2 separate regions of the Homo sapiens genome follow, and region 1 is linked to region 2. The links are contacts of gene promoters, found by promoter capture Hi-C in blood cells and fetal thymus (Javierre and others, 2016). All regions are on one chromosome and are shown on one strand. Each heading gives the region's core, a stretch centred on a gene start or on the middle of the fragment in contact. The rest is flanking DNA. Distances are from core to core; before and after follow the strand shown.

Region 1 (3,465 bases), core at 608-3,107, 430 kb after region 2:
GTACTTGAAGTACTGAATGCTTTTATGCTCAAGGTTCCATGGTTTTTAAATTGCCTGAAAATATGTCCTAACTTTTAAGTTGGCCGACTGTCATTTGCATAGTAGATTAATCCTTGTTCACTATTGTGAATTAATAGTCTGTGGAATTATTTTGTCTCATCAACGAGGACACAGCTGACTCTGGGTGTGTCCCTAGCAATTTTTGTGTGAAGTGAATCAAGTTATGTAGAAACTTATCAAGCACGTTCCTCATTATTCCTTCCACCCAAAGGCCCTTAACTTCTAGAAGAATTGTAGATTAAAAGGCAAATATGGATGGAAGGAGAAGACCAGACTGTTTGAACCCGCAGCACTCGGACTCAATGCAAGGAGAGTGGCAAGCAGATATGCAGAAGGAAGCTGCTTTGCGCAGGAGTGCTTGTGCCTTAGTCTGAGCAGGTGTGCAAGAACACACATGCCCACCCCTGCATGCACACGGATGACTCAGTTCTCAATCCATTCTTATTAAAGAAGCATGCAAAGAGAGTTTGCCCCTGTAACCTTCGTGGCCCATGTTTTATTCTCCTGCTCCCATTACCTGCACGCCAAACCCATATGCATCTTTAAAACCCATTTCAAATGTTGCTTTCTTCATAAAGTCTTCCTTGATCTCTTCAACTGAAGTTTCTCTTTCCTCCTCTAAGCTCCTCTGGCCCTCTCTCCATGCTTTTCTTATAGAACAGTTCTCTATCTCCCTCTCCCTAACTCAGTGGACTGCTCCTGGAGAACAGAGCTCACATCTACATCATTTCCATATGCTCTTGTCTACCCTGACTGAGCAACCTTGTAGTGCTGCTCAGGCATCTATTGTGAACTGGAGAAGAAAGAAGGAAGACAAGAAGGTCACCTTCTAAGCAGTCCCATTTCCTGACTTCTCTGGGATTACAGGCCTCATGATACAGGCTCCTATTTTAGGAAACCACTTCACAGAGATTCTTCTTCTGGGCATTCCCTGGGGATGGCACACAGTTGATGTACACAGCTGCCATGATGGCAACGACAACAGCCGTCATGATGGAAGAGCGAGTTGCTAAGTGAAAAGAGTTTTGCATGTGCAAAACTGAAGCTTCTCCTCCTCTAGGCTGAGTTTCATCCTCTAACGGATAACCAAAAAGGAAGTTTATTTCAAACGTTTCATCAGGAATGACAAACAAAAACATCTGTTGGAAAGGAAACCAGGTGTTGGGCAAGGGATGTAGACGTTATATAATTTGGTGTTCTCCTCCAGGATCCAGTGGGGATTGCTATGTTGTGTTCGTTAACACTAGTTAATGTAATTTTTGTGATAATTGTAGAGCAAATAGAGCAAACTCTCAAATATAATTAGGGAAAAGTGTTTCTAATTAACTTGTAACTCGTGAGTTGCAAAGTAAAGCCACAAATCAGTTATGCATTGTCAGACCTAACAAATGGAAATGCGCTGTACATTTCAATCTCGGCAAATACAAAACAAAGCACAAAGACCCAGAAAAACTTTCCTTTAAGCCTTTATACAATTTTGGCATGCTCTGAAATGTAATTAGAGATAAGCACAGATACATCTCACGTCACCAGCCCTAATGATCACGGAGGTGAAAACTGAAGGCAACTTCAGACGGTTCAAGAACATCCAACATTTTACTGCTGCAGAATGTAAAATGGATCATGCTCACAAAACACTCTCTGATCGGTGTACAGAAGGTTCTGATGAAACTTCACAAGGTTTCATAGGGAAGTAAAGGACTATAATATATGCAAGCTCCACCCCAGTTAACACTGCCATCAGTAACAGTTGCTTACTGCTGGCTGTAAGTCAGAGGGGGATACAGGAAATTTCTTCTATATCCAGTGGAAGCGATTCCACTTATTTTCTCTCTCACTTGAGGAAGCACACTGTAATATGAGGTAACCTCAAATTCATTCTAATTTGAAAAAAGTGATAAACGGGCCATATATTTTCATTGGATAGTGTAGTTACCATTAGCGTCAAATTATTTTGGCGTCTCTCAAAACACATCCATGTCTCCTAATCCTCCACCCCTCTGCAGTCCACTGTAATTGTTGGTCCTGTTAAAGTAGAAAGTGGTGTTTCTCAAACATGCATGATCCTAAGAACCTCGAGAGGGTATTGCTAAATGTGTGGATTCCCAAGCTATTATCGTGAAAATCTAGGGTCCAGAAATATGTATTGTTTTATCAAGTGCCTCCAAAGAAACTCTTATGATTGGAGAAACTGGAAAATCACTGGTGTAAAGCAGACTGGCTTTGGAAATCAAGGACTACACTAGTACCACAGACCAGCTGTGACTTTAAGCATGCCCCTTACATCCAACCTCACAGGACCTCAGGAGTATTCAAGGCAATGATAGACTGGACGGTACGTAGCACTATGACCGGTAAGTGTGGGTGTTCGTAAATGTATGCTTATCTCTTCTTGGTCCACAAGAAAGAAATGCAGAGAATACCTGGATTCTCAGGTTAGGCACATTGGACAACAATAAGAATGTAAAACACAGGAAATAATGTGACATATTGGCTCTAGAGGCATCTGCAAAGTCCTACTCTGTGACAAAGGTAATAAAGAAGGGGTATTAAGCTTGACTTACCCATATATAAATGTTAGCAGTCTAATCTTACCATAGCACAACTAACTACAACTCCCTTAAAAAGACTGTTTATGAGAAACAGAGACAAATGGGACAGAATAGAGAACTCAGAAAGAAGACTGCACATCTACAACCATCTGATCTTTGACAAACCTAACAAAAACAAGCAACAGGGAAAGGACTCCCTATTTAATAAATGGTGCTGGGAGAACTGGCTAGACATATGCAGAAAATTGAAACTGGACCGCTTCCTTACACCTTACACAAAAATTAACTCAGGATGGATTAAAGACTTAAATGTAAAACCCAAAACTATAAAAAACCCTAGAAGAAAACCTAGGCAATACCATTCAGGACATAGGCACGGGTAAAGATTTCATGACGAATACATCAAAAGCAATTGCCACAAAAGCAAAAATTGACAAATGGGATCTAATTAAGCTAAAGAGCTTCTGCACAGCAAAAGAAACTATCATCAGAGTGAACAGGCAACCTACAGAATGGGAGAAAATTTTTGCAGTCTATCTATCTGCAAAGGTCTAGTATCCAGAGTTTACAAAAATACTTAAACACATTTATAAGAAAAAAACCAACCCCATTAAAAAGTGGGCAAAGTACATGAACAGACACTTCTCAAAAGAAGACATTCATGCAGCCAACAAACCTATGAAAAAAGCTCAACATCACTGATCACTAGAGAAATGCACATCAAAACCACAATGAGACACCTTCTCATACCAGTTAGAATGGTGATTATTAAAAAGTCAAGAAACAACAGATGCTGGCGAGGCTGCGGAGAAACAGGAATGCTTTTACACTGCTGGTGGGAATGTAAATTACT
Region 2 (3,123 bases), core at 623-3,122:
AAGGCGCTCCTCCCCACAGTGGACAGGGACCCGCTGTGGTGGAATGGAAGTCAGTTATCCTTAAAAGAAATCCCATCAAAAAAAAAACTCCCTTTGAAGTACTTTTTTTCTTAAAACCAATGCAACACAAATTCCCCCAAAACCATTTTCCATCACAGTGGAATGATTTTCTAAAACCCCATGCCTCTTAAGTTCTCTGGCATCAGTTAGACATTTTTCTTTCCCAGTGCCAGTTAGTTTTGTTGTAGAGAGCCTCCGTCACCACTGAAAAATATTGCCTACTCTGGACTGCAACATATTTAAAGAACGGCTCCTATTCATTGTGCTGGTGCAGAGAATTCCCGCCCTATAGCGGAGGACAGCAGAGAAGGATAATGGGAATCTTTTTTTTTTTTTTTTTTTTTTTTGAGATGGAGTCTCGCTCGCTTTGTCGCCAAGGCTGGAGTGCTTTGGCTCAATCTTGGCTCACTACAACTTCTGCCTCCCGGGTTCAAGCCATTCTCCTGCCTCGGCCTCCTGAATAGCTGGGATTACAGGCGCCCGCCACCATGCCCAGCTAATTTTTCTACTTTTAGTAGAGATGGGGTTTCACCATGTTATCCAGGCTAGTCTTGAACTCCTGACCTCAAGTGATCCACCCTCCTTGGCCTCCCAAACTGCTGGGGTTACAGGCATGAGCCACCGCGCCTGGCCAGGAATCTTTATTGTCAAGAAAATGGCGCAAATGTGCCACCAAAAGAAGCCATGTTTCTCAAAGACTTCTGTTCCTACAAGACTGAGTTTATGACACTAAGGCGTGCTATTAAGACCTAAAAGAACCTCACGCATCCATACATTGAAGTGACTTGGCTTCTGAGACCCAAGGCCTTTGATCTTCTCACCAGTGTCCCTCCATATGGGCCGACTGCCACTGGAAAGGAGAGTAGAAACGGAAACAGACCCGTCTGGACAGAATCCAAAGTGCAAACAGGAACTGTGCCCAGAGAGAGGAGGAGGTGGCAGAAGCATGAAGGCTGCTTAGATCCCTATGTTCTAAGAAAGACCGCTCTTTCCTGGCTTTAACTTCCTTGGCTCAGAAGTTTAGGATTTGCTCAAAATCAGAAAAAGCAACTTTGGGGGAAAAAAAAAATCTGGATGTGGAAGAAACTGGCGGTGAAAGTCATATTGAGTGATTAATGATAAAAATTATTTCCGCTCCTTGGTTCTTGAGTCGGTATGAAACGCTGGCAGCCTCTAATTAATCATCACCATGATATTAACACCACTGACTTTTCATTGCTTCTGCTACTTTCTTTCTAGACATCTGTATCCTCTAAGTAAATATTATCCGCCAAAACTTTGTTATAAGTTGTGCAACTGGGTTCGCCCAAGGCACCGGAGCCTGCGCGCAATCGCACAGGTACGCGGCCGCCCGCGGTCCTCAGGAAGAAACGCTTCGCCGCCGCCGGCAAGCGGGGCCGAAGCTCCGGCGGGCTCCTCCCGGGCCTGGGCGCCCGACCTCTCCGCGGCCCGCGCCCCTCGGGCGGGCATCAAGGCCCGGAACCCGTCTCAGCGCTCGCCGGGGCCCTCCCCGCGGAGCCCCCGCCCGGCGCCCCCGGGTTCGAGCCCGCCCCCGGCACCCGCGCGTGGAGAGAGAGGAAAAGAGTCAGTACCGGCGGGCGGGTGTCCAGCTTTAGTCTCTAGTTTCCCTTCGGGAGGCGAAGACATGACGCGGCGGGGCTTCCGCGGGGCCGAGGCGGCGGCGCGGTTCTCGGGCCGGGCGGGCGTGCGCGAGTGAGCTCAGGTGTGAGCGCCGGGGAGCGAGCGGGCGGGAGAACGACGCGCGCGCGTGGGGCGCCGGGGCCGCGCGAGCCGGGTGAGTGCCACTGCCGTTAAGGGGGCGCGGCCGCCGCGCGCCGACGTGGCGCAGCCGAGCCCACCGACGGCATGCGCACTGACGTCACCGCGGCCCGCCCGCCCTGCTGGGCCGCGAGCCAAGCATACGGTGCGTGCGCAGCCGGCCGCGCCACGTCGGATGCTGTGGCCGGGGGCGGGGGCGGGGGCGGGGGCGGGGGCGGAGGAGGGAGGGGAGAGAAGGGGTGAAGAAGTGAGAGGGAGAAGGAAGGAGAGGGAGGCGGGGTCCCCGACTGGCTGCGGGGACTGGAGTTGCGGAAAGTTAAGTAGGGCCCAGCTGAGGATGGCTCCTGCAGCGAACGCGCTCAGCCGGGCTCCTGGCTACGCGGCGACGGCTGGGTGACTGCGCCCCACAGTGCGGGCCAGGGCCGGGGCGTCCCGGCAGGGAGGCGACCGTCCCCTGAGGCCCTCAGCCCCTGCCGCGGCAGCGCCTAATGAAGCGCGGAAAGGAGAGCCCAGATGGCAGCGACGGGGGCCGAGAGAGCAGGAATTTGTTAAAAGACGATGCGAGGGGAGAGCCTGCTTTCCGAGTGAGGGCCAGCGCTGGGGAGCAGAGACGGTGGCTTCTGTCCCTGCCCTCCTCGTTATGAACCAAAAATAAAATTCTAAGCCCTGCAGCCAACGGATGGACCCTCCCCTCCGCCTGTGGCCTTCTAAGTTATCTTGAAAAACTAGTTCAGGCCTTGATGGGAAGCGGAAGTCAAACATGGCCTCACAAACATCCGCACGGAGACCCTAAGACTAATAGAGGACTCTGATAAGAAACATTTGCAGTGTATTCCCGGCTTCATCTGCATGATAACACCTTGGTCTCCACAACTCCTTCATGCAACCCGGACATTCCCTTCTACTGAGTCCAGGTCTTTAGATGATAACTCTCAACCAGTTGCCAATCAGAAAACCTTTAAATGTACCTATGACCCGGACGCCTCCACTTCACATTTTACCTCCTAAAGAGCCAACCTACATCTTACGTATTGATTGATGTCTCATGTCTCCCTCAAATGTATAAAACCAAGATGTTTCCTGGCCACCCTGGGCACATGTCATCAGAACCTCCTGAGGTTGTGTCAATGCACGTCCTTAACCTTGGCAAAATAAACTTCCTAAATTGAGACCACTCTCAGAAACTTTTGGTTTTCACCATCATCTTCCTGTTGCCGTGGCTGACCCCTGGCTCTCGTGCCTTGGATCGTGTTCTTCCCGCCTGCCCCAGTGTTTTGCAACTGC

The links. The method cuts DNA at HindIII sites, captures the fragments that hold promoters and counts their contacts. A CHiCAGO score of 5 or more calls a contact.
Region 1: a contact is called between a fragment that was not itself captured here and the fragment with the promoter of DAP in region 2, in 1 of 17 cell types (M1 macrophages). The highest score is 7.0, in M1 macrophages.

The regions. Positions count from the first base shown.
Region 1 is chr5:11,184,554-11,188,018 of GRCh38, forward strand. The region is part of intron 11 of CTNND2 (catenin delta 2); the gene reads right to left. Among named protein-coding and RNA genes, the nearest start is that of CTD-2154B17.1, 400 kb to the left of the region's middle. The HindIII fragment of the contact is 1,509 bases long and covers 1,104-2,612 here.
Region 2 is chr5:10,759,362-10,762,484 of GRCh38, forward strand. It overlaps DAP (death associated protein), which reads right to left and starts at 1,873. Exons shown (of 4, transcript NM_004394.3): 1 at 1,653-1,873. The coding sequence starts at 1,707. DAP-DT (DAP divergent transcript) reads left to right here and starts at 1,675. Exons shown (of 3, transcript NR_187555.1): 1 at 1,675-1,855. RefSeq lists silencers at 1,429-1,858, 1,939-2,408 and an enhancer at 1,931-2,776. The HindIII fragment of the contact is 9,246 bases long and covers 1-3,123 here.